Linked DNA regions of Homo sapiens: all the other regions are linked to region 5. Evidence: promoter capture Hi-C in 16 types of primary human blood cells and fetal thymus (Javierre and others, 2016). All regions are on one chromosome and are shown on one strand. Each heading gives the region's core, a stretch centred on a gene start or on the middle of the fragment in contact. The rest is flanking DNA. Distances are from core to core; before and after follow the strand shown. Region 1 holds the start of LOC124902613 (a long non-coding RNA gene). Region 2 overlaps KCNQ1 (potassium voltage-gated channel subfamily Q member 1). Region 3 overlaps KCNQ1 (potassium voltage-gated channel subfamily Q member 1). Region 4 overlaps KCNQ1 (potassium voltage-gated channel subfamily Q member 1). Region 5 holds the start of KCNQ1-AS1 (KCNQ1 antisense RNA 1). Region 6 holds the start of KCNQ1 (potassium voltage-gated channel subfamily Q member 1).

Evidence for each region. Contacts are between HindIII fragments. The CHiCAGO score rates a contact against its expected background, and 5 or more counts as called.
Region 1: a contact is called between a fragment that was not itself captured here and the fragment with the promoter of KCNQ1-AS1 in region 5, in 4 of 17 cell types (total CD8 T cells, naive B cells, M1 macrophages and 1 more). The highest score is 5.5, in total CD8 T cells.
Region 2: a fragment that was not itself captured here is called in contact with the fragment with the promoter of KCNQ1-AS1 in region 5 in 7 of 17 cell types (naive CD4 T cells, M1 macrophages, erythroblasts and 4 more); the score reaches 6.3 in naive CD4 T cells.
Region 3: a fragment that was not itself captured here is called in contact with the fragment with the promoter of KCNQ1-AS1 in region 5 in 6 of 17 cell types (M2 macrophages, M0 macrophages, M1 macrophages and 3 more); the score reaches 6.8 in M2 macrophages.
Region 4: a fragment that was not itself captured here is called in contact with the fragment with the promoter of KCNQ1-AS1 in region 5 in 17 of 17 cell types (megakaryocytes, M0 macrophages, neutrophils and 14 more); the score reaches 15.7 in megakaryocytes.
Region 6: a contact is called between the fragment with the promoter of KCNQ1 here and the fragment with the promoter of KCNQ1-AS1 in region 5, in 4 of 17 cell types (erythroblasts, non-activated CD4 T cells, M1 macrophages and 1 more). The highest score is 7.0, in erythroblasts.

The regions. Positions count from the first base shown.
Region 1 is chr11:2,507,320-2,511,641 of GRCh38, reverse strand. The region is part of intron 1 of KCNQ1 (potassium voltage-gated channel subfamily Q member 1); the gene reads right to left. LOC124902613 (a long non-coding RNA gene) reads left to right here and starts at 51. Exons shown (of 3, transcript XR_007062553.1): 1 at 51-182; 2 at 1,365-1,488; 3 at 1,916-2,181. The HindIII fragment of the contact is 396 bases long and covers 2,875-3,270 here.
Region 2 is chr11:2,572,264-2,576,328 of GRCh38, reverse strand. It overlaps KCNQ1 (potassium voltage-gated channel subfamily Q member 1), which reads right to left. Exons shown (of 16, transcript NM_000218.3): 6 at 3,343-3,483. Among named protein-coding and RNA genes, the nearest start is that of KCNQ1OT1, 130 kb to the left of the region's middle. The HindIII fragment of the contact is 2,481 bases long and covers 1,575-4,055 here.
Region 3 is chr11:2,595,635-2,599,663 of GRCh38, reverse strand. The region is part of intron 10 of KCNQ1 (potassium voltage-gated channel subfamily Q member 1); the gene reads right to left. Among named protein-coding and RNA genes, the nearest start is that of KCNQ1OT1, 100 kb to the left of the region's middle. The HindIII fragment of the contact is 572 bases long and covers 1,602-2,173 here.
Region 4 is chr11:2,540,169-2,544,501 of GRCh38, reverse strand. All of the region lies in intron 2 of KCNQ1 (potassium voltage-gated channel subfamily Q member 1), which reads right to left. Among named protein-coding and RNA genes, the nearest start is that of KCNQ1, 97 kb to the right of the region's middle. The HindIII fragment of the contact is 9,571 bases long and covers 1-4,333 here.
Region 5 is chr11:2,860,108-2,864,322 of GRCh38, reverse strand. KCNQ1-AS1 (KCNQ1 antisense RNA 1) reads left to right here and starts at 2,754. Exons shown (of 3, transcript NR_130721.1): 1 at 2,754-3,333. RefSeq lists an enhancer at 667-1,364. The HindIII fragment of the contact is 10,846 bases long and covers 1-4,215 here.
Region 6 is chr11:2,442,180-2,446,635 of GRCh38, reverse strand. It overlaps KCNQ1 (potassium voltage-gated channel subfamily Q member 1), which reads right to left and starts at 1,628. Exons shown (of 16, transcript NM_000218.3): 1 at 1,152-1,628. The coding sequence starts at 1,537. TRPM5 (transient receptor potential cation channel subfamily M member 5) reads left to right here and starts at 2,122. Exons shown (of 29, transcript NM_014555.4): 1 at 2,122-2,205. RefSeq lists silencers at 1,639-1,708, 1,719-1,828. The HindIII fragment of the contact is 13,739 bases long and covers 1-4,456 here.

The DNA of each region.
Region 1 (4,322 bases), core at 1,823-4,322, 350 kb after region 5:
AGCAGTTTTATTTCTGTCTCGGTATCCTCAGTCCCGCCCAACAGGAGCCCAGCTCTGGCAGGAGGGGCAGGTTGGCACCTCTACACAGCGGCTGGGAGCATGGAGACCACTCACCCGTCACCTGCCACAAACCACTAGTCATGGAGGGTGGACTCCCAGGCCACAGACTGACCAGGACTCAGGTAAGCCATATTACCACCCATGCAGAGACTGACCCTGAAGGGCTGCTGGGCCTGACGAGGTGGTTCTGGTTCCATGGGGGTGGGGGAGAGTGAGAGGGCATTCAGAAACAGGAATCAGGCGGTGCCAGCTGCCTCCCCAGGAAGCCCTCCAGTGGCAACCTCTGGCTCTCAATTCTGGCCCTGCTGCCAGGAACAGTAGGGGCTGCCCCCTTCCCCACCCCACGTCTCCTCCTTTTCCGTGACAGTCACACCCAAGGTGCATCCCACAAGAGCCACATCCCATGCCTGGCTTTTGTCCCTGCTGCCCCCAACCCAGGAGGCACGTAGTGTGTGCCTGGCACCACGCTGGGCTCCAGGGGTGCAGAGACAGATAACAGACACAGGGAGAGAGAAAATAAACCGTAAATGAACACATAAAACCACCACCAATGGGGAAAAGAGAAAGGGTGACGTCTCGGGGAGAGGCAGGGCAAGAGGGCTGCCCCAGGAGCTGGTGTGGGATCTGAATCGGGTAGAGAGCTAGGGACAGACCCTGCAGGCAGAGAAAACTGCACGTGCAGAAGCCCTGAGGCATGGCCTGGTCTGGGCCAGGGGAGCAGAGTGATGGGCAGGGAGATTCGCTCACACTGTGATCGGAGGAAGGCCACGCCCAGGAGTGCATCTGAGCGTGCCAGCCTTCCCAGGACCTGGAGGCAGGCTCTGGCCTAGAATCTGCTGCTAACCAGAGAAGCATCTGGCCTGGGCCTCAGAGACCAGCTGGAAGGAAGGGTGGAACAACACCAGTGCGGCTTCAATTTCACGGACATTGCCCAGAAGCAGAGAAAGCCCAACATGTTAGCCTTGTTTGTTCCTTTGAGAAAGGGCCTGGTTCTGACACCCAGACTGGAGTGCAGTGGCACAATCTGAGCTCACTGCAACCTCTACTCCTGGGCTCAAGTGATCCTCCCACCTCAGCCTCCAGGGTAGCTGGGACTACAGATGTGAGCCACCACACCCAGCTAATTTTTGTATTTTTAGTAGAGACGGGGTTTCACCATGTTGCCCAGGCAGGTCAGGCTGGTCTCAAACTCCTGGCCTCAAGCAATCCACTTGCCTCAGCCTCCCCAAATGCTGAGATTGCAGGCGTGAGCTAACATGTCCAACAAACCTTTATTTATTTATTTAAAAATTTTTTTTTTTTAGACACAGGGTCTCGTTCTGTCACTCAGGCTGGAGTGCAGTGGCAAGATCATAGCTTGCTGCAACCTTGAACTCCTGGGCTCAAGTGATGCTCCTACCTCAGCCTCCCGAGTAGTTGGGACCACAGGTATGTGCCAGCACACCCAGCTAGTATTAATATTTTAATTTTTTTTTTTAGAGATGGGGTCTTGCTATGTTGCCCAGGCTGGTCTCGAACTCCTAGGCTCAAGCAATCCTCCCACTTTGGCCTCCCAGTGTACTGGATTGACAGGCCTGAGGCACCACGACCGATCCCAATTAGCCTTTAAACACCAGGAAACCAAAGTCAGATGCCAGGACATATCTAAAGAGAGAGGCAGCCCTGGCAGTGGGTCTGTTCCCGGCTGTCACTTGTCACCTCCATGGGCATTTCCCAAGCCAGGCTGCATCACGCCACCATTGGCCGGCCCCGCCAGGGTTCCCTGTCCACACCTCCCAGTCCACTTGGCTCAGCCAGCAGCCGCCCAGCCCCGCTCCCCACCCCCGGAAGCCCCTCTTTTCTTTCCCTATCCCAGGACTGTCTCCTGGCCCAGTCCCAGACAGTTCACAGCTGAGGAGGAACAAAGCAGAGGAAAGGGACGTGGCGTGACGTGCTGGGAGTGAAACGCTGACACCTCCGTGGCCATCTGGGACCACGACCTGCACTACTGCCCTCACACCCGGACCTGGAGCTGCCACTTCCTGCCTGCTTCCCAGAATAGCTGGGCTCATCCTCTGAGCAGGCTGCCCTGCCTTCCTCTGTCTCTGCTCAGGACAGAGACTCCTCCTAGGACACCAAACACCCCCCACACAGCACAGACCCAGCCTCCCAGCCAACGGCCACTCACTGGAGCAAAGGGAGCCAAGTCTGGCTTTGGACAGGAAGATGGGGTTTGCCAGGCAAGGGGTGCAGAGATGCTGAACTTGAACATGGAGGGGAAACAATGATGATGCCAAGGGAAGGGGCCCTGGGATCCTACCAGACCCTACCCCAAAGTCCGAAGCCACTCTTCATGAAATAATATGTGATATTAAAAACTTAAATTTTCAGTTTCATGAAACAGCAAATAAAAGCCTTGAGATAGTTGCTCTCCCAACCTGTGCTGTGTGCTTTTGGTAACAGAGTCCTTCCCCCAGGGACCCCCAAATTCCCCAGTATGGGGCATGTGTTGTACTAATTTCAAGACCTCTATTTCACCCTGAGCAATAGCTCCTCCTCCAGGAAGCCTTCCAGATTGCTCAGTCAAATCCCATGCAGACTCTGCACACCCTTGCCCAGGGCTGTGCCCCTTCCCCACGGCCCTCATCCAGCTGGAGCTCTACATTCTTCGTTTGCCTCTGTGACTGTAGGGTGCCCTCCAGTGCCCACAAGGGCCAGGCTGTGTGCATCAGGCACATGGGTGTGGAGGGAGCATGCATTCAACTGTGACTTTCCTTAGCCCTCCTCAAGCCTGTATGAGAGCAGGGGAATTGATGGCTTTCTTCCTAAAAAGCTTAGTTCAACAGTCTTTCCCATCCCTCCCATTCGGGGAGTTTCTATAGAGGAAGCCAGGTGGTCACTGCCATCTTCAAGGATTCCCTGGGGGTCTCTGAGCAACAACAGGATATCTGGGTCACCCACACCCTCTGTGCTCTGAGAAGCCCACCTGCTAGTCTGGGAGTCTGGGTCCTGGTGGGTCCCAGCCCCGTACATGGAGGCTGGGACCCTGCCCCGAAACCTCTCAGGTGCGAACACCCAGCTGGTTATATCATCACCCTCTCTGCATGACAGATGGGACACTCCACTCAGGACCCACACTCCTCCCCATGCAGAGCAGCCAGGCCTCGGGAGCTGTGTCCTGACCTGAGGTGCAGTGTCCAGGGCACTGTCTGGACAGTGCTCCCCAAAGCTTGCCCTGCCAAGCCCAGGTTCCAGGACAATGATGGGCTCCTGGCCTAAAGTCTTTCCAAGACATATCTCCGCCGGGTAACGGCAAGTCAGACAAGCCAGTATGGTCCCCACAGGAGCCCAAAGACCCTTGGTGACCACCATGGGTTGGTGGAGGTTGTGGTACCTCAAACATGCATGCCTAGTGTTTGCAAACCTCACCTTCAGCAGCAGCATCCCTGGGAAACCCCAGCTCCACTGCCGTGGGGCCAAGGCAACACAGACCCCTGCTGGGGCCCAGGCCAGCTCTGTGGGGCCGAGCTGGGTGTTTGTGTCTGAGAGGTTTCAGGGCAGGGTCCCAGCCTCCATGTACGGGGCTGGGACCCACCAGGACCCAGACTCCCACATACGTGTGTGGAATAAAACTCATAACCCCACATCACCAAGTCAAGGCCAGTTCCAAAACCTCTCAGGAGGGCTCAACACAGAGTCCTTTGTTCTTCCTCCATTGCCCCTGTGGAGGCTGCAGGACACCCAACCTCCCGGACTTGCCTTCCTTGCCCTCAGCCTCCACAGCTGCCATCACTTGGCCCTTGCCCTCTGCCCTTCCACCCACCCAGGCTACAGGAGGCCCTGTCTAGCCCCTGCGCTCATGTCATTTACACACTGACACCTCCCCTAACTTGTGAGCCCAGCCCGCACTCTCTCCCCAGAGCTCCCACCTGCAGGTCTTACTGCCTTCAACCCACCTCACCTGGCTGCCTCACAAACACCTCCAAAATAACATGTCCCCAGCTGGACTCCTTCGCCCCAACCCTGACCCATGTCAGAAACAGAAAGTGCATCCTCCCAGGTGCGAGGGGTCCCAGCAGCATCCTTTTCTCTTCCTCCCGCTGCACCCGCCACCTTATCTACCTGCAAACCCTGTTTTCTACAGCAGTGGTCCTGACTTCTCACCCTTCCTTCAAACCCTCTAGAGCAAACCACGCCGTCCCATCCCACAGCCACCTCAGTCACAGCCTCCTGCGCATCTCGTGTCCTGCCCGATGACCCCACACTCCATGCTCCACTTAGAG
Region 2 (4,065 bases), core at 1,566-4,065, 290 kb after region 5:
TCTCACATCCAAGTTGCGTATCCCCACCCCGGCGAAGGGGACAGGAGGGGACACTCAACCACTGAGCCGGCGCCTTCGCTGGACAGCTGTGGAAACTGGTGGCCGGCAAGGGGAGGGACCTTCCCAGGAAGTCCACCTGGGCCACCCACTGTCCTAGGCTGGACTGCATCCCCCCTAATTCATATTCACCTGGACCCACAGAATGCGATATTTGGAAATAGGCTCTTTGAAGATTCAATCAAGATGAGCTCCTCCTGGATCACCTGGGTGGACCCTAAAGCCAACAGCAAGTGTCCTCATGAGAGACAGGGCCTGACACAGAGGAAAGAGGCGGCCGCACACCGGGCACGCCTGGAGTCTCCAGCCACGGGGAGAGGAGAGGAAATTTCTCCCTGAGCTTTCGGAGGGGCAGGCCCTGTGCACACCTCGCTTCGGGCTCTGGCCTCTAGAGCCCATGAGTTTCTGTTGCTCTGGGCCCAGCAGTTCGCGGACTTTGTTGTGGCAGCTCCAGCACCCTCTCAGGGTGTGTCTGAGGGGTGAGGAGTCCACAGAGTCCAGGCAAGGTCTGGGGCAGATGCAGCATGATGATCAGAATGGCCTGGCCTCCAGGAAGCCACCTCCCACCCAGTAAGGGCCTGTGGCAGCCCCGACGGACGGACAGACATGGAGCAGCCCTGGCTGCCTGGCCGGCGAGGGCGTACTTCACTCCCCGGTGGGGTGAAGGAAGCAGGACAAAGGAGCTGAAAGAAAACAACTGCTCAGGGCGCAGTTGCAAATTGGCAAAACTGGCTTAAAAGCCCCCATCTGGGCTGCTGCCCCTTCTTGCGTTTCTCAAGTTCTGTTTGTCCGAGAAATGCCAGGAACACAGCCCATAACTCAGGCCTCAGGGGCCGCTCCCCCCAGACAGCTGCAGGGCAGCTGAATGGGAGCTGTTTGCCCCACAGCCCTGGGCGGTGGGGGGCCCAGGGCGACCAGGGGCGCGGGGCCTGGCGGGAACAATGGCCAGGCCAGGGCGCGCGATGGCCGAGGCTCGGGCTGCAGCTGACGGTGTGGGCCGGGGCACTGATGCCAAGCCGGGCACAAAGGGGCCGTGTTCCCGGCCAGCGGGCGGATGTTTGCACAGGTGTGGGAGTGGGAGTGCCGCTCTGCTGCGGGCTGGGGGGCTGGGGAGTAGCGTCCGCTGCCCACAGCTCCAGTGGGCGGCTGGGAAGGCAGGCAGGGCAGCAGCGAAGGCTGGGCACTGCTTATCAGCCGTGCCGGGGCCAGTACCCACTGGCTTTTGCTGCACCGCCAGCTCCTCACTGCCCACCTTGCCACCAGCCTCCCGGGAACTCTCCTGGCTCTGGGCCGTCCATCCCCCGAGCACGCCCTACCCATCCACACTCACTGCAGGCAGGCTCCCGCAGGGGGGCTGGGCCCTGCTGCCCAAACCTGCTCAGGCCTGCCACACTGGGGCCTTCGGGGACACAGGCCCCCAGGAAGGCGGGAAGAGGCCGAAAGTGGGGCCTGCCCCAACCCAGGAGCTGTGTCAGCATGCCCCTGCCATCCCTGAGCATTGCAGCACTTTGGAAGCTTCCAGAAAACCTGCTGACTTGGCCTACGTCAGGAGCCACTGCTGAGTGTCTGGCCTCATGGGGGAAGCGGCGGTTGAGGGGGAGGGAGGAGGCACAGCAATCGCAGGGACACGTGCCTGCCTGGGGAGCCACCGGGAGGCTTCTCACCCCACCCAGATATGCTCTGATGGTGGTGGGGGGTCCCGAGAGCCAGCAAGTCCGGTCCTTTCTGGAAGGAGGACTCGGGGCAGACGGACTGGGTCCTGGCACCACCACGTGTTTCCCACGGCTGCCCTGCCCGCCCCCACCTCCAGCCCCCGTGCGGCCCCCAGGCCTTGGCTCCCACCCTGTGTGGGCTTCGACGGCCTCCTCCCCAGCCCCCAGCCCCTGTTGCTACCACGATTCCATCTAACCTGTTATCGGACTGAGTGAGCCCGGAGGTCGGTAGACAAGGGCAGACGCGGGGGCAGGCTTGTGGCGGCAGAGTAGGGGTCACCCTGTCACCTCGGCACTTGGGCTTCTCGGTCCCCACCCAGGGCCACTCCCCAAGGTGTGATGGTGCCACCCTGGGCCTTAGTGGCCTGTGGACGGCCCACCTGGCCCTGCAGCTGTGGGGGGAGATGGGATGGAGTCATTCCCTCCCTGCACTCTGGCCTCCAGCCAGCTACTCCCCTCGGGGTACCCACGTGTTCCCCCTAGAAGCAGCCCTTGAGCTCCATGCATATATAAACGCCGACTTTCACTGGAGGATTTGAAGGCAGCCACCAGCTCCCAGAGGGACACTGGCAAGCTAGGCCTGCCCCCTAAAAATGCCTCAGCCAGCGTCCTCTGAGCCATGAGAAACTGCTGCTGGGCCCACAGGCCAGTGACTTGGGACTTGGGGAGCCTGCAGCTCGGAGGGCGCACCCTGATTCCTGCAGCTGCATCCTCATCGGAACATCTCCCTCTCCCACGTGCAAGCCTGAGTCCCTCAAGGAAGCCCCCACAGACACGGCCCAAGACACCCTGCCCCACCCCTCCCGCACAGCCTCTCTGAGCTTTGGGTGGCTCGGTGTTCCAGTGCGGGATCTGCCTGCTGCACACCGGCTTCCCCAAGGCTCCCGGGCTGCTCTAGGTGGCCGGAACCCACCTTCACAGCCAGGGGCAGCCTCTGGGCCCACAGGCCGGGTCCCTGCTTCCCTAGGCCCAGCTGCACCTATGTCGCCACTGCCCAGGCCCGGCTCCAGAACTTGCAGGCCCAGCATCCACTGGAAACACGGGGGCTCTCTGATCTCTGCTGGGGTCTCTTGAGCCATCATGGTCTTTCCTGTTTGCTGTCTCATGTCTGGCTCCTTGGGGACAGGGGCACTTACAGGGCCTGTGTGGACCCTCAGAGACACGCGAGGTATGCATCTGACGCCGCTCTCCTTGGGCCCTGCCAGGGTGAGGGCCACGGTGGAGGCAGGGAATGGGCAACCTAGGACGATGGCGGGAGGCAGAGCCATGGGGGAGCCGAAACCGCTAAGCCCCCAACACACGCTCCAGTGACCCCTCCGATTTCCCTCTCAAATCTCAAGTTCAAGGATGAGACCATTCAGAACTTCAAGATGGTGATGCCAAAGGACTCAACACTGAGCGTGGGGACCTGTGCCAGCGGCTCCAAGCACAGGTTTGTGGACAGAGGCCTGTGAGCGTGCAGGTGAGAAGCCCCTGCCAAGGCCCGAAGTCTCAAGACACCAGTGCCCAGATGTCCTGCCCACTCCTCAGCCTGAGCTGCCCCTGTCCCCATGCCTGGAAGTTTCCGACTTACCACCCCCCACCACAGCGCATCTGCGTAGCTGCCGAACTCCACGCGGCCTGACTCGTTCACCGCGTCCTTCTCAGCCAGGTACACAAAGTACGAGGAGAAGATGAGGCCCAGGAAGCCGATGTACAGGGTGGTTATCAGCTCCTAGGCCAGAAAACACACAGTGTCGGGCTCCAGGAACCGCAGGCTGGGAGCCTCCTGTGCAGACGCCTAAGGCAGCGAGTCCCAGCGATCACTGGGCGTCCTACGCCGCTCCAGCGCGGTTCACATGCACAGGGCCGGCTTCAATATAGCCCACTCCTCACAACTCCGGTAAGTGGCGGGTGGGGGTTACCCCCAGAATGAGGCTCAGCCCTGGGGTCGCCCTAGGCCCACTGTCTGGGCCGGCGCGGGCTCCACTGATTGCCCAGCTCTCTTTCCTGCCACGTGACAGAACCAAGAATGGACCAGGACCCAGGAGATCCTCAGGGAGAGGAAGGGTCCCCTCACCCCACAGAGCCAGGGGCCAGTGCAGCCTGAACCCATCTGAGTGCAGCCCTCGGGAGGGAGTCTGGTGGCCCTGCCTTGACCGGGTCCTTGATTTGCCTGGGTTTTTCATTTCTGACTTTCTGTCTTCATTTGCCCCCAGCTCAGAGGAAGGTGAGCACACCATCAGCCTGGCAGGCCAGGGTCACTGGCACCAGGCTGGGGTGGAGCATCCAGGCTGGGCTCAAGCTTGGGCTTGCT
Region 3 (4,029 bases), core at 638-3,137, 260 kb after region 5:
AGCAGCCTTGCTGACACCTTGATCTCAGACTTCTATCCTCCAGAATTGTGAGAAATACATGTCTGCTGTCTAAGCCACCCAGCCTGTGGTATTTTGTTATGGCAGTCCTAGCAAACTAATACATCCTGGAAAGTTAACACATAGAAATAAAAGTTCTGTACATAGAAACAGGTTCAAGAACCTATGTTCTTGAACAAAATGAATTTTAAGCGATAGAGAACATCACAGAGTATGTACACCAAAGGAAATTAAGCAGAGATTATAAATTTTAGAATAGAATTGAAATAGAAATAAAATTCAATTAGAGATAGAATTAAATCAAAATAAAATTGTTTCAGCAGCCTTAGAGGCATTTTTACTATTTTACTGATTGAGAAAAACAAGATGCAGAAAGCAGGTATGATATGATCCCGTGAGTTTGGAAAACAATGATAATGCCTTCATTATGTCACATGTATTTTATTTCATTGAATATTATATGAACATCAGGAAAAATGTAAGACAACAAATCCTAGATTATCAACATAGGTAACAGAGAGGAGGGGAGCCCAAGCAAACATAAGAAAAAAGTTCTGTACTGAAACACATCTATTCCATTCTACTCATCTGTAAAGTTAAAGTGTGAATATTGGAAAGTAATACAACATTAAGGACACTAAAAGAAAGAATAGCCCCTATTCAGATCTGGTATTGATAGAGCCTGAGGCCAATTTGGCAGCAGACAGAGACACAAGACTGTTTGCTGCATATGGGTCCTGGGTGAGCACTTACATGTTCTAACTCACTCAGTCAACACAGGAGTCCTGGGAGCAGGCAGTTAGGATCCTGATTTCACAGATGTGGAAACTGAGGCACAGAGAATGCAGTAGCTTGCTTAGGGCCACATAAGAAAATGGCAGAGCTGGGCTATGACCCTAAAGAAGGTTGGCCATATAGGCTGTGCTCCAAACCACTCCATGAAACCTGCCACTCAATTTTTAGAAACATAATTGTACAGGAAGATTTAATTTTCCTGTCTCAGAATTTGGCAGATGTATTAGGGTTTTTTTTTTTTAACTAAGGGCAGAGCAGACCTAAATGAGGCAATGAATAAGTATGTATACACAATCCATCTCAATGTACATTTTGTCTGTCCATGTATACAAATAAAACTTTGTGTTATACAAATACAGAAGATATTTTCTGAGGTCTGTGGAGCATTTACAAAAATAATGATGTTATTTTCATACTTGGAGACAAAGAAAATCTTCATTTTAAAAAAAGTGGAGACTTCATAGGCTACATCCTTTCACTGTAAGCCTACTAAATTAGAAATAAATAACAGTGATAAAAATTTACTGCTTAAAAATTAAGAAGACATTAAAAGAACTCTAAAGAGAAAAATCAAAACACAAAATTAAAACTATCAAGAAAGCAATGAAAAGGAACATATTTCATAATCAGATCTACGTGTCACAGCTAAAGCTGCAATCAGAGGAAAATTTATAGCCTTTAAAAATGCCTTTAGTAGAAGAACTTCAAATAAATGAACTATGACTCTTAAGTAAAAGAAAACAAAAATAGAGTTAGCCAAGAAAAGGGAATTAATAGCTATAAAAGCTTAGATTAATGAAATAGATAACAAAGAGTACAAAGATAGTTTTCTGATAATAAAATATAAATAAAACATAAATTTCTCATGTGCTTGATTAAGAAAAAAGGAGAAAAACCACAAAAGTTCAGGCATAAAGGAAAAGAAAAACGAAGAGATGATAGAGAAGACCATAAAATCACTAAAGGAAAAAATCAGTTGCTACCAAGTGGCAACACAATTGAAATGCTTGAGGAAATTAAATAGCAATGAATAAATTACTCCAAAAGATGCAATAAACTAATTTAGAACAACATATCATAAAACAGACTAAAAAGAAATTACTAAAGATATCCTATAAAACATGTATCAGGCCCAGATGGTTTTACAACTCAATTCTATTTAACCTCTACAGAAAAGATAATCCCAATGTTCTTCAAACAGTTCCAAGACACAGAACAAGGAAGGTAGATAAAACTTTGTTTTGTAAACCATTGTATTTGCCCCCACATGATGGCAGATTTCATACTCTTCTGAAAGATGTACTGTTATTTCTAGGATCAGATATCAGGGATGTCCTGCATCAGTGATGAGAGTGAAGCTTCACAGTTTTGATGGCTGTTTAACGGAGATATGATACTTGAAGCAGACCTCCACTGATGGGTATGTCGGTGGTTTGCAATTTTTTGCTATTTAACAATTGCAGAAATCAATATCCTGATGATGGATTATTTTGCAAATGTGTAAGATATGTGTAGAATAAATTTCTAGAATGATTCAAAGGCATATGCATCTTTAATTTTGATTGAAATTGCCTTATTTATCTCCACAGAGGTTTGTATCAATTTATTTTTCTAACATCAATGACTGAGACTGAGAGTTTCCATGTACACATACCCATAGAGTGTTATCAAACTCTTTGATATTTAATAATCAGATAAGTTTCAAAAACCCCATTGCTTTAGTTTGCATTTCTCTTGTCATAATTGAAGTCATCCAGCATATTTTCATTCTTAAGAATTATTGGTATTTCCTTTTCTGTGAACTGTTTTAATATCCTTTAACTTCTATCTTGATTTACAAGAGCGTTTTTATATAGCAATTAAATTAGCCCCATGCCTATAGGTGAGTGGCAACTGGTTTCTTTAGGTTATCAATAAAAAATTATTTTCAGTATGTTTTTTTGCTATGCAAAATATATATTATATATTTACATTATATATTATAAACAGTTTTATTGAGATATAATTGACATAACTTGCTTATGTTTAAAGTGTGCAATTTGGTAACTTTTGACACATGATGAAACCATCGCCATGATTATGATAATGAACATATCCACTGCCCCAAAAGTTTTTTTGTGCCCTTTTGTCCTTTTCCCTCCTACTACTACCCCTGATCCCCAGGTAACCACTGATAACCACTGACTTGTTTGTCACTCTATATTAGTGGTCATTTTCTAGATTTTTACATAAATAAGATACCATGTACTCTTTTTTTTTTTGTCTGGCTTCTTTCACTCACCATAATTATGTTGCAATGTATCCATATTGTAGGCATATCAGTGGTTCATTCCTTTGTATTTCTAAGTAGTATTCCATTTTAGGAATATACTACAACTTTGAAAAAAATCTATTCAAATGTTGATGGGTATTTGGGTTGCTTCCAGTTTGGGGTTTCCAGTTTTTATAAAGCTGCTATGAATATTCCATGTACAAATGGTGGCATGCATATGATCTTATTTCTCCTGGATAAATACCTAGGAATAGAATCGCTGTAGAATATGGTAGGTATGTATTTAACACATCAAGAAACTGCTGAACTGTTTCCCAAATGGTTGCATCGCTTTGGACTTTGCATTCTCACCGGGAGCATATGAGAGTTCCACCTCCGACACATCTTTACCAACACTTGGTATCATCCATCTCCCTCATTTTATATAATATAATAATTGGGCCGTGGTATTTCATTGTGTTTTTTATTTGCATTTCTCTAATAACTAATGATATTTCAGCCACATCTTCAGGCTCCACTTCTAATTCTAGTTCTCTTGCAGTTTTCACAACATCAGTAGTTACTTCCTCCACTGAAATCTTCAACCCCTCAGTCATCCATGAGGGTTGGAATCAACTTTTTCCCAATTCCTGTTAATGCTGATATTTTGACGTTCTTCCATGAATCACTAATGTTCTTAATTTCATCTAGAATGGTGATTATTTTCTAAAATGTTTTCAATTTACTTTGCCCAGATTCATCAAAGCAATCGCTATCTATGGCCGCTATAGCCTTATAAAATGTATTTCTTAAATAATAAGACTTCAAAGTTGGCATTACTCCTTGATTATGGGCTGCAGAATGGATGTTGTGTTAGCAGCCATAAGAACAACACTAATCTTGTACATCTCCATCAGAGGTCTTGGATGACCAGGTGCACTGTCAATGAGCAGTAACATTTTGAG
Region 4 (4,333 bases), core at 1,267-3,766, 320 kb after region 5:
TGGTATATAACCTCATATGTATATGAGATATATAACCCTTATAAGAGATATATAACCATATACATATTAGGTATGTAACCATATATATATATACACACACATATATACACATATATGCACACATATATATACACATATATATACACATATATATACATATACATACACATATATATACATAGATATATACATATATACACATATATACATATATATATACACATATATATACACACACACACATATATATATACACACACACACATATATATATATGAGATAGATAATCTCATTGATCAGAGGATTCAATATTGGTTAAGACATCAATTCTCCCCATGTTGATCTTTAGGTTGAATGCAATCCCAAACAAAATTCTACCAGGCTTTGCAAAAATTGGTAAGCAGCTTCCAAAATTTATATGTAAATGCAAAGGACCCCGAACAACCAACACAACTTGAAATAGCAAAACAAAGTTGGCTAAATTACCCTAACTTATTTTAACCGTATTATAGGGCTGTAACAATCCCAGTGTGTGACTGGCAAAAGGACAGATCAACGGATCACAGTAGAGTGTCCAGAAAGAGACAATTTTATGATAAACTGAACCTCTTAAAAGGAGTCAAGATGATTCACTGGGTAAAGGATACTCTTTTCAACAAATGACACTGGACCAGTCAGTCATCCATAAGAAAAAACACATGAATCTCCGCCTATGTCTTACATGATAGAGAAAAATTAACTCAAAATGCATCCTAGGCCTAAAGGTAAGCACAAAAATTATAAAACTACTAGCAGAAAATCTTAGTAAGAGTGTGTTTGGTAAGCATTTCCTAAATAGAATGTGAAAAGCATGAAACATATTTAAAAGGAAAAAGCTATATTTGACTTCATAAAATTGAAAATGTTTGGTCTTTAAAAGATACTATTGGGCCTGGAGCAGTGGCTCACACCTGTAATTCCAGCGCTTTGGGAGGCCGAGGCAAGGGGATCGCTTGAGGCCAGGAGTTTGACACCAGCCTGGGCAACAAAGTGAGACCCTGTCTGTACAAGAACTTTAAAAAGTTAGCACCTGTGGTGGCACATGCCTATAGTCCCAGCTACTTGGGAGGCTGAGGTGGGAGGATCCTCGGAGCCCAGGAATTCGAGGTTGCAGTGAGCTACGTTTACGCCACTGCACTCCAGCCTGAGCACAGTGCATGACCCAGTCTCAAACAAAAAAAAAAGATACTACTAAATAAATGAAAAGGAAAGCCACCGACTAGAGAATACATGTGTAAAACAAATATCTATGTAACCAGAATATACAAAGAACTTTTACAACTCAGATGACAAACAGCCCAATTTTACAATGGGTGAAACATTTAAAAAGATATGTCACCAAAGATGTTTCCTGGATGCCAATGAAACACGTGAAAAGATATTCAACATCACTGGTCCTTAGGAAATGAAAGTTAAAACCACAGCAGGATGCCACGCACACCTCTTAGACTGGCTAACATGAAAATGACGGACCACGTCAAGGGTTGATGAGTTAGCCAGTTTCTTAAATAGTTAAAAATATACACTCACCACATTATCCAGCCATTCTATACCTAGGTATTTACCCATGCAGAAAGGAAATATAAGTCCCTACAAACACTTTTATACAGAGTCCGCCAGCACACAAGTGGATAAACAGACTGCAATGCGTCCGTACAATGGGATACGGCTCAGCAATGAAAAAGGAATGAATTATTACATGCCACAGCCTGGATGACTCTCAAATATGGAACCAGACAATAAAAACCACACACTGTATGATTGCACTGACAACAAGCCCCAGAAAACGCCAACCGTCTACACTGACAAGACAGACCAGGGGTCCCCTCCGGAGCCAGGAGCAGCGGAGGAGGGGCCAGCGACGGGAGCGAGAAGCCTTCTGGGGGTGACGGATGTGCCTGCTGTCTCAATTGTGGTGATGGTCCTGTGGCGTACACCCATGTCCAGATTTGTCAAATCCTACATTTTAAACAAGGCCTTCCACTCTATGCCAATTATACCTCAACAAAGCTGATTTTTTGTTTGAGTGAGCAGAATAAATAAAACTGAGGCTATGGCGGTTCCTGGCTGAGGCCCCTCCTTCGCAATTAGCGCGCCTTTGGTGGGCACGGGGCCCCTTACACCGGCTTCCCCTAGCACTTCCTTCCCCGCCCCCGCCAGGGGAGGAGGCATCGTCCACCAACACCCTTTTGCCCTCTTGGCCATTGGCTCTGGACTGAGAACCTTCATGCCCAATGTCCCCACACCCTCGGCACAGCCCCAGGAACTGAGGTCCTGATATGACCTGAATTTCACACATGAGGAAGCTGAGGTGCAGAGAGGATTGGTGACGTGTGTGGACCCACGGGGAAGTCTCAGGAGTCTGGATACCCCCATATCCTGGAGTTTCCCCAGCAAGGTCTGGGAGTCTTTCTGCAATCCCAGGCTCCAGGGCCATGGAGAGCCACAGCAGGCACGGCGACAGCCTCTGAGGCCCACCCCAAGCCAGGGGACCCCACGGTGCAGCTCTGCGCCGGCCTTTCACAGGAGGGGTGCAGAGGCCTCCAGAGGCTGCCGACTGGCCCCCAAACCCCCTTAGCTGATGTCTATGCGAGGACCAGCCACAGGACCTGGGCCTCAGCGCCTCTGACAGGGGCTCCATGAACTCTGGGGAGAAACTACAAATTCTTACAAACTCCCGGGATGAGAGGGGGTTTTCCAAAGGTTCTAGAACTCCTAAGTGGTCTAACAGATGTCCTCATTTAAAAAAAAAAAAAAACTCAAAACACCTGAGCCTGAGATGAAGCAAGAGAACTTGAGCAGAAGGGGGCTTTCTGGGAACGTTCAGAGTATCCTAACGGTGGGGACAAAGCCCTGCTCACAAGCATCCCGAAAACGGCGTCCCCATGGCTTTGTCCTCAATCCCAGGCTTTCATAGCCACCGCCAGGTCCAGGGACCTGGCTGGGTAGGCCACACTGAGAACTAACCAACGAAAAGGGCCCAGCTCAGTCCCTCCCCCGAGGACAGCAGCCATCCCTGACCCTCCCCAGCCAGTTTCAGAAAACGGTCAGTGAGAAGAGACACAGGCCCCGCTAAAGAAAGCTAAAATGAAATAAAGACGCCCGCCCTTCCCCCAGGTTCCCCACCAAATGCTGCTCTGAATGCACGCATCATTCTCAGCACATGGTGCTCGGAAACTGACCAGATCATCACCCCGCCAGGAAAAGGGGCTGGCCTGCGCCTCTCGGCACACACTTGACATTTTGTTCTCATCCAGGCTTCCCATGCTGACAGTTTCTGGATTAAATGTGCAAATGGAACGCGGCCCCAAGGGGGTCTCTCTCCCTGCCTGCCTGAGGTCCAGGGCTGGGTGTGCACGTGTGCACGTGTGCATGCAGGCACGTGTCTGAGCCTGAACGTGCACACACACGTGAGTGTGTCCACATGGGTACCTATGTGTGCATACGTCCACACGCCCATCCGTGCACATATGTCTGTGCGTGTGTGCCTGTGCATCCTCTTCTCCATAAGGCATCTGGGCTGGACACGAGTGTGTTTTTCAACCCCCGACTTCAACTACCTTGACCATGACCAAGTCTGGAAAACTCACCACCAGCTCACAGCCGCCCAGGACTTTTCTCAGCCCAACAGGGATTGGCTTCACCTAAAAATCTAAATGCAGTCCCCTCACAGCAAGTCCCCAGGCTGTGCTCTCTGCCTCCCATTGCCACCCTAGAGGGCACAAAGCTGTGAGGCCCAGAGGACCAGAACGCACCTTCCCAAGTGGCCAGGAGTCAAGACTGCATATTTGGGGAGGAGACTATTGTCCCCAGTTGCCAGGGTCCTAAAGACACCTGAAGGGAACATCCACTCCTCCTGAGGCCAGCTGGAGCTGACCTTGGGGTTGAGAGCATCTCCCACAAGCTACTGAGGAGGCTGCTGGCCGCCCCTGGCCCCAGGTACCCCAGTCATCCCACCAGGCATCCCGTTGGCCAGTTTTATACCCGGGAGAAAGAAAATCTCGTGGGAAGAGCTGTCTAGGCCTGGCCCTGAACAGGGGGCTGGGATCCGAGGTGCTCGAGCCGTGGCTCCTGACCCCGTGAGGCCGCACCGAGCCCTGTCCCCCCAACCTGCAAAGTCACATGATGACACACTTCAATGGTGCACGGCCAGGGCCTCTGGTTTTCACTCTGTGTGACCTGGGAAGCCAAGAACATAATTAGAACTCATCTGAATGTAATGCCCTCTAGGGGGTTCCCCTGGCACCTGCCCAGCCCCCTCCCCAGGCTGCTGCCCAGCGTCAGAGGAGACCTC
Region 5 (4,215 bases), core at 1,505-4,004:
GGAATGGGTGGAGGAGAGCTGGCAGCCAGGGTGCCCGTGCAAGGGCGCAGCAGGGCAGGCTCAGTGATGTGGAGCTGGAGGGTGGGCATTGAGGCGGAGGTGGGGGGTGGGGGGTGCGGCTGTGAAGGTCACGCCAGGGCCAGGGTGCCAGAGTCAGACTGGTGGCAGTTGGGCCAGATTCACTCTGTCAGCTGACTTCAGTCCCAGCTGAGCCCAAGGCTGAGGGATCCGCCTGCACTTTCAGTCCTCTGGCTGAGCAAATTACGAAAGTATCACAGAATGTTTCAGGAACAGATGATTTTCTTTCTCTTTCTTTCTTTCTTTCTTTCTTTCTTTCTTTCTTTCTTTCTTTCTTTCTCTTTCTTTTTTCTTTCTTTATCTCTTCTTTTTCTTTCTTTCTCTTCCTTTCTTTTTCTTCTTTCTTTCCTTTCTTCCTCCCTCCTCCCTCCTCCTCCTCCTCCTCCTCCTTCTTCTCTCTTTCTTTCTCTTTCTCTTTTTTTTCTTTCTTTTTTGAGATAGGGTCTTACTCTGTCACCTGGGCTGGAGTATAGTGGCACAGTCATGGCTCTATGTAGCCTCCACCTCCCAGGCTCAAGTGATCCTTCCTGGGACTACAGGCGCGCCGCTACGCCTGGCTAAAAAAATCAGAAGATTTTTTGTAGAGATGCGACCTCGCCAGGTTGTGCAGGCTGGACTGGAACTCCTGCGCTCAAGCAGTCCTCCCGCCTCGGCCTCCCAGAGTGTTGGGATTACGGGCGTGAGCCACCGCGCCCGGCACCCTTTTCTTTTTAAAGGTCTGTGGCTGAGTTTTGTATTGGGAGTATTCTTACTTACCCAGAACGTGGCTCTGTCTCTGTTTCATCGCTGGTGGTGGAGCAAGTGAATCACCCACCAATGTATAGGTTTTCTAAGTTTGTGGTTGAAATTTTGCTAGTAAAGTGGACACATCACAAAGAAACTGCCTCCCTCCCTCACTCTGCCCAGCCTGCCCCAGCCCTAGGCTTCGAGGCAGGCCTGGGCTCCCGGAGGATGCTCCCTGGCGCTGTGGGGCCAGAGGCCTGGGCCAGGCTCCTGCTGGGGCTGGAGATGGGCGGGGTGGCGGAGGCCGGCCCTGGCCTGCCTCATTTCTGCGCTCCGACCAGCCTGGGAATCTGTTTCTGTCATGAAAGGCGAGGGTGACCTGGCGGGCTTCTGCTCCTGGTTGGTCAGAAAGTCCGGGGATCCTTGGCTCCGGTTAAAGGGGCCCCCACGTCTGCCGTCTTGCCCGGCCGCCTCCAAGTGCCGCCGGCCCAGGGCTGAGGAAGGCGGGCCGCGGGGAGAAGGCGCGAGGGCCGGGCCGGGCAGGGGGTCCCGGAGCCAACCCCACCGCCCGGGCCGCCCCGGGCCCGCGCCCGCCGCCCCCACCGCGCCGCGCGTCTGTTTGGAGAAGAAAGCGGGCCAATTTGTTTTCATTCAGAATCACTTAAGATCCCATTTTGGAGAAATGAAAAGAGAGAAGCGCGCTTCCCGGGCCCGGGCCGCTGGGTGCCCGCCCGTGCCCGGCGGCGCGTCGAGTGGAGGGACAGCGGCCCCCTCCCTGCCCTCGGCCCCAGCACGCCCGGCCGCGGCTCCCGGAGGTCCGAGGAAGGCGGCGAGGCCGCGCTCATCTGCATGAAGCGCACACTCGCGGCCCATCTGCAAAGGCGCAATTAAACGCGGGGGTGGGGGGGCAGGGGCGCCCGAAATTAGCATTTCCGCGGCCATCTGGCGCGAGGAGCGGGCGCGGCCGGACAAAGGGCGCCGGGCGAGGGGAGAGGCGAGTGTGCCGCGGCATTGACCTGCAAATGAGGCTTTGTGCGCGCATTAAAGCTCGCCGGACCCCCGACCCCGGCCCCCGCCCCGCCCGCCAGGCCCGCGGCCCCTAGCGGCCCAGGCTCGGACTGGGCACCCCGAAGGTCTGGGGGTCGGGCCGGGCAGTGCCGCGACTGGGCAGGGGGCCGGGCCGGGCCGGGCCTGGCCGGGCCAGGACAGGCTGTGGAGCGTCGGAGCCCCCCACCCAGGCTGGGTTCCTCTGCAGCCTCCAGGAGAGCCCCTGGGACCCTGGCCCCTTGAACCCTACCCCTGCCCCCATCCGGTCCTCGCCCCTCTGGGCCGGTATTCCCCAGCCTACTCCTGGAAAGGATTTCTCAGGACGCAGGGGTCCTGGCTAGAATCCCTCGGGGTGGGTAAGTGGAGGGGGCGTGGACAGGTGGGGGCTGCGTGGTGGGGGCAATTTTGTATTGGGAGCTACTAAAAACTGGCCACCTGGACAGGTTTTTGTTTTTGCCATGGTCATTAATGCCCTCAATGTTTGAAAAAGGCCATTTCACAGTGTTTTATGGGCCTTAAAAATCAGGGACTCTTTGAAAATGGTTGTGGGGCAGCTTAGTGACAGCCAGATGATTAGCAAGAGCTCAGTATCAGGTCTTTAGGGGACCAAGTGTGTGGGGTGGTGGTACAGGAAATCTGGGACTCCCCAGCTGGTACAACTGAGGCTGCAGCCAGGGCCAATGGGCCGGGGAGCAGGAGGCCGGGACTGGGAGCCCTGGGGCCAGCTGGGCTCTGCCAGATACCTGGGTCACTTGGAGGCCCCTGGAAGGCCCCCTGGACTTTCTGCCACATTGCTCAGGCTCTGGGTGCCTACAAACTGCCCCCCATGCCGTTGGGCTGCTCATTAGGGGTTGTGGCCCAAATTAAACTGCAGTAGCCACCCCCAGAACCTCCAAAGGCCTGGGGGGCAATGAGGGGCACAGAGGACAGTGTGTGGCTATCTCTGGGTCTCTGTTCTCCCAGGTGGACCAGTGGGGGTTGTGGCGATGCTGTCCAGGGTGAGGTCCAGCTACGGTTGCCGTCCTGTCTGTCAGCACCAGCACCCAGCACATCTGTAGGGCCTGGGCCCCGGACCCAGCCTGAGGGTTATGAGGAGGTTTCCTGAAGGAGAAAAGCCAGAGTGGAGTCTGGAATGGAGCAGGGGGGACCATGGCCTGCCCTCAGTCTGCTAGGTGGGGCTGGAACCTGGGGTTTTGCTTGGGTGTGAAGAAGGAAGAGGCTGGGGATGCAGCTAGGTGCTGGTTCCTCATAGACCGAGTCATGATTTATGGGGACCCTCAATTATATCCCCTTAGCAGGGGCCACAAAGTCTCAAATCTGCCCAGAAATCCACACCTCGGAGCTCAGGTGAGGTCTTCTTCAGGTTCTCCCTCTGCAGTGCAGATACTGTCAGAAAGAGCAAGCTACAAATGGAGAAGTCAACAACACTCTAGTGAGAATTACCCTGCCAATTAATTTTCTCAGAAATCGGGGACTCAGGGACCGGTGTGTAAACACGAGTCCCTTAATGGGGGGTTCAGACAGGGTGGGTGTGGGCACACAGGGGTCCGTGCTAAAGCCTGGCACTGGATCCCAGGTGTGGGGACTCCAGCTCCTCCCAAGGGGCAGGGGATCTCCCGTCTGTGATGTGGCTGAATGACTCACCGCCTCATCTGTGGGCCAACATGTGTGGTGGGGCAAAGGTCTCTGGCCTGGTAGCCGTGTGAGCTGGAGGGGGGGCACTTCTCCATCCAGGCCTTACAGTTTCCCTTAGGTAAATGGGGCAGAGTAACCCCCTCCTTCCCCTACCACAAGGGTTCTGGGAGGTGTGGAGCCTGGGGTGTGGTGGTGCTTGGCACTCCGTGTTCTTTGGAAGCTGGAATGAGGTTCCTCAGGCCAGTTATGGGTGTGAGATGTCTGGAAAAACGAAGTAGACTGGACGGTGGCCTCATCTATCTGTGCTGGGCTGGGCACCAGCACCTCGCTCTCCCAACCTCTTGGGGTGCGCCCATAGAGGAGATGGAAGCACAGAGGATTTCAGAAACTCCCCACCTTCAGTGTTGCCTTCAAAAGTATACTGCTGTGGCATGTGGGCAAGGAGGGTTCTGGGGATGGGTGGGCTGTGGGGGGAGTAGGCGCATGGGTGGGGTGGGCCCAGGGGAGCAGGCATGAACCCAGGGAGAGGGTGCATAGATGGGGTGGAACCCTAGGGCTTCTGAGGGACTGCAGTGCGGCTGGTCTGTGTGGACAGGCGCTGGAGGGGGCACTGTGCAGAGAGCAGGATGTGGGTGAGCCCCTCTTTCCCCTCTGTCCTTCCCATCCTCCAGGACAGGGAAGCAGCCCTCAGCAGACAGTGTGAACCCCATGCCCAGTGTGAGCATGAGCACA
Region 6 (4,456 bases), core at 379-2,878, 420 kb after region 5:
CTGCGACCCCTACCCCACCCCCTCACCTGAGACGATGCTTGAAGCCATTTGGGGCCTGGCTCCTGCTGTCACCCGCCCTGAGGCCCTGGTGGCAGCTGCCAGCAGGCATGGACAGGCCTCTGGATGCCCTCCAGCCAGTTCTCTACTGAGCCTGCCCGAGGCAGAGGAGATGCTTCCACCTGAGGACGCTCAGGGAGACCACCCTTCAGCCCTCAGGTGAGCCCCACAGCCATCAGCCATGGGATGTCTGGGTAGAGGCTCCCAGGCCAGAGGCTGGCACCACACCAAAAGGCCGCTGGCTGGGCAGCCAGGAAGTAGGGCCACTGGGGCAGCGGGGGAAGGCCCCAGGCAGGCATGGAGGAGAGCAGCCTGGACCTTCCCGGAGGTGACTTCCCAGGCCTGTCCCTGAGAAATCCAGTGCCCAGCCCTGCTCAGGCACGCTGTACCGGGAATTGGAACCACCTGGTAACAGGGGGGCCAGGTGCCTCTGCTACCAGCGCTGCTTTCTCCGGGAGCACAGCTGCCTCTTAGTGAGAGCTGCAAACGTGCCTCTCCGCTCTCTGCATCAAGCCAGGTTTTCATGAGCTTGGTTCAATTAGTTAATGTGGGGCCCGTGGGGACGGCCCGTGGCATGCTGAGCCCTCAGGGAGCACCGCCACCGTCACCTTCCTATCCTGGACAGCCCCCTGCCCCAGAGTCCACCTGGGCCTCAGGGGGTCTGAGATGCGGCACCGGACATCAGGGGCCTTCTCTCTTGGGGGCTCCTGAGCCTCGAGTCTCAGCCGACCTTGAGGAGTTATCTTACTGCACCCAAGGGTGCGCTCCCCAGCACGCTTCTCTTCCCAGAAGGATTCACACCTGGACTACCCTCCCGGAGGTGTGGAGCCAAATTCTGGGCTCCAGGTGGTCCCCTCCCCAGCCGGCTCCCTCCCCACGCCGGGCCTGCGAGAAGATGCGCACCCCCAGACACAGCAGCGCCTCTGAACTTCAAGGGAGAGTGCAGAGTTTGTGTTTCTGCGTTTCCCCACTTCCTTCCCTCCTCTGCTCCGGGGTCGCAGCTCCGACGGGGCAGGTGGCGCTGGGACAGAGCTCCCCCACACCAGCTCTCAGGAAGCACCTTCGTGCCGGCCGTCGCCGGTGGCGATACTCACACGGCGAAGTGGTAAACGAAGCATTTCCAGCCGGTGGGACGCTCGAGGAAGTTGTAGACGCGGCCCTGGACGTGGGTGCGCGCCAACACCGGGCGGCGCGTGCTGTAGATGGAGACGCGCGGGTCTAGGCTCACCGGCGGCCGCGGGCCAAGGTCGGAGGCAACTGGGGGCGCGGCGGGCGCGGCCGGGGACGCAGGGGGCGCGGGACCTGGGGCGCCGGGCGCGATGGGCGCGTAGAGCGCGCCGCCCGCCGGGCCGCCCTCCGCCAGCTCCAGCGAGAAGGGGCACTTCTTGGCCAGGCCCGCGCTGCCCCGCCGGGCGCCTGGCAGGCGGCCCCAACCCCAGCGCTTCCTCTCGGCCCTGGGCGGGGAGGAGGCCGCGGCCATAACGAGGAGGGCCTGCCGGGGGGCCGGCCCGAGCGGCGGCACCGGGAGCTGCAGCGAAGGCGAGCGCCCGGGCGCAGTGCGGGCAGCCACTGCTGCCAGCCCCGCCGCGGGGGGCCGCTGCCGGCCCAGCCCGGGCGCTCGGGGCGGGGCCGGAGGGGGCAGTGGCCGAGGGCCGGTCCCATGGGACGGCGTGCCCCGCCCCCGCCTGCACGCCCCGCCCCCGCCGGTCCGGCGCGCACAGGGCGTCCCTGCCCGCGCCCACCGGCTTGGCCCGCCCTCTCCCCACGGACCGGCCTGGCCCTGCCTCCGCCTCACCCCCTGGCTTGGCCTGTCCGCGCCCCCGCCCCCGCCTGCGCCCCCGCCCCCACCCCCACCCCCGCCCGAGCCCACCTGCTTAGCCCCGCTCGTGTCATCTATCCCGCTTGGCCCCGCCCCCTCCTCGCCCACCTGTTTGGCCCCGTTCCAGTGTGCATTTACCCCGCCTGGCCCCGCCCCCTCCCCGCCCACCTGCTTGGCCCCGCCCTCACCCACCTGCTTGGCCCCGCCCCGTCTGCATCTCCCCTGCTTGCTCCTGCCCTGCCCTCACCCACCTGCTTGGCCCCCACTTCTGATGCCCGCCTGCTCTGCCTGGCCCGGAGGAGGACCCCAGCTGCGCCAGGGAGGAAGGGGTAAGGCCTGGCCGATACCACGACCGAGAACGGCACAGCGGGGGCAGGAGGGGCGGGGTAGGGTGCCGGCATCTACTTTCCCTCCCTCTGAGCCACTCCGGAGTTGGGGTTGGGGGGAGGAAAGGGATGTCCTGGGTGAGGGTGTGCTGGCCCCGCGATCACTGTGAGCGCCCCCGGGTGCCCAGGCGCGCGAGCTGCGGGCGGCGAATACGCTCGGGTCGCTTCCCACCAGGGCCCTTGGACCGGGAGGGTGAGATGGGACCACCACTGTCAGGTACCTCCCAGTGGGAGCTGTGTGGGTGGGGAGCCGGCAGGGCTGCTGGGGGGTGGGGGCGGCACAGCCGGGGTCTGGACCTGGTTTGACTGCCGGGCATAGCAGGCGGGGCTGCCTGGGCAGTTAAAGGGAGAGGCGCTTGCGCCACCCTAGTAACTTGGAGAATGGGCGCCTTGTCCTCCCCACCGTCGAGACCGCGCTGCCGCTGCGCCCCGTGGATTCCCCTGGGTGGGGGTGGGTTGGTCACATCGGAAGATTTTCACAGGTCTCTGCACTGCCTCCCGCCCGCTACTGGCATTTGGGTCTCAGCACGTCTCAGGCTTGGGGGGGGGGTGGGGGGCAGCCAACAGAAGAGACCGGCTTTTTTCAGGATACTGCACACAGCCCTGAGGCAGGGACTAAAGGTGGAGCTCAGCGGTGACTCTCCGCCCCGCCAGGAGACCCATAACTCATGTGACACTTCCAGGTCGTCCCTGAGCACCCTGGGTCAATTTGATGTATCTACCACCCCCTGCCAAAAGTCTGCTCTTTTATCGTGGACGGAGTCCAGCCCAGGCCCTTGACGCCTGACTCCCCACCCTAGTGAGGTGCCACACAGGAGTGCACAGTCTGTATTTGCAGCAAGAGTGGATGGAGTGGGTCCCAGCTTGTGCTGGGCGCTGTGATAACACAAGGGAGGCCGAGGAGAGGGTACCTTCCTGGGAAGCATATCAGTGAAGGTGCAGAAGGGCAGCGGGTCAGAAGATGGGGGCAGTCAGTCAGCTCTGCAGGGCACACAGCACGCATTCAGCAGTTACTTTCCGGGTGAACATACATACACCTGCATGGAGTCTCTGCCTTCCCCTCCCACCTCAGCAGGAGGAAGGTGAGCTTTGAATAAGCAGCGTTTGGACAACTGGACAGTCATAAAGAAAGAAAAAGCATACCTTGGGTCCATCTCACCGCACACGAGAATAAATCTCAAATGAATCAGAGGCTCAAGTGTAAAGGGTGAGATGAAGCCATGCAAATTCTACAAGAATGTACAGGTCAATTCCTCAAGAACCTGTGAATCGGGAAAACATTTCCAACTATGACTTGAAATCCAAAAGCAACAGATAAAATAAGAAAAATTAAAATAGAAGCACCATTAGCAAAGTAAAGGAGACAAATGACCAAATGGGAAAAGTATTTGCAGTTTCGATCACAAAGGATTAATATCACTGATACATAAAGAACATCAAAACTGAGGTGAGGAACCTGCCAGACAGTCCTATAGAAAAGGGAGCAGAAGACATGAGCAGTTCATAGGAAATGGGGTTCATGACCTTTGCACTTATGAAAAAATGTTCAACCTCATTTATAACAAGAAAAATGCAAATGAAAAGTACACTCTGATACCACTGCTTGCTTATCAGATTGGCAAAAATCCAGACTTTTGATGGCAACTCTGTGGGAGAGGCAGCAGGCACAGGTGCACTCCTCATCACTGGTAGAAAAGAGACCTAGCGATATTACTAAATGTATCATTTGACACAGAAACCCCACTTCTAGGAAATAACCCAAAGATATGTAGGAAAAATAGAAAAGTACATATACATAATGATAGTCAAAACAGCATTTTTTATATTAGCAAAAGTCTAGAGACAATCACAATGTCCTTCAATCGCTTCAGCTGTGCTGTGGTACAGTCACACGATGGAGTGCCATGATCAATATGATCACTAATACTCAACCAAAGGATCCCAAAGAACTCTGTGTGTGTGTGTGTGTGTGTGTGTGTGTGTGTGTGTGTGTGTGTATCAAAGAATGATGCTAAATTCCTTTGGAACCAAGATTTTCAGTATAAAAGTGATACAGATTTAAAAAATCAAAGAAGTACAAACCAGTCCTTAAATTGAATGGACTATATTAGCATAGACTCCTCAGCTATTTTATCTTAGGAAAAAGGTATATCCTACTATTGTTCATTGTCAAGTTTGAGAAGGGGCTGATCAA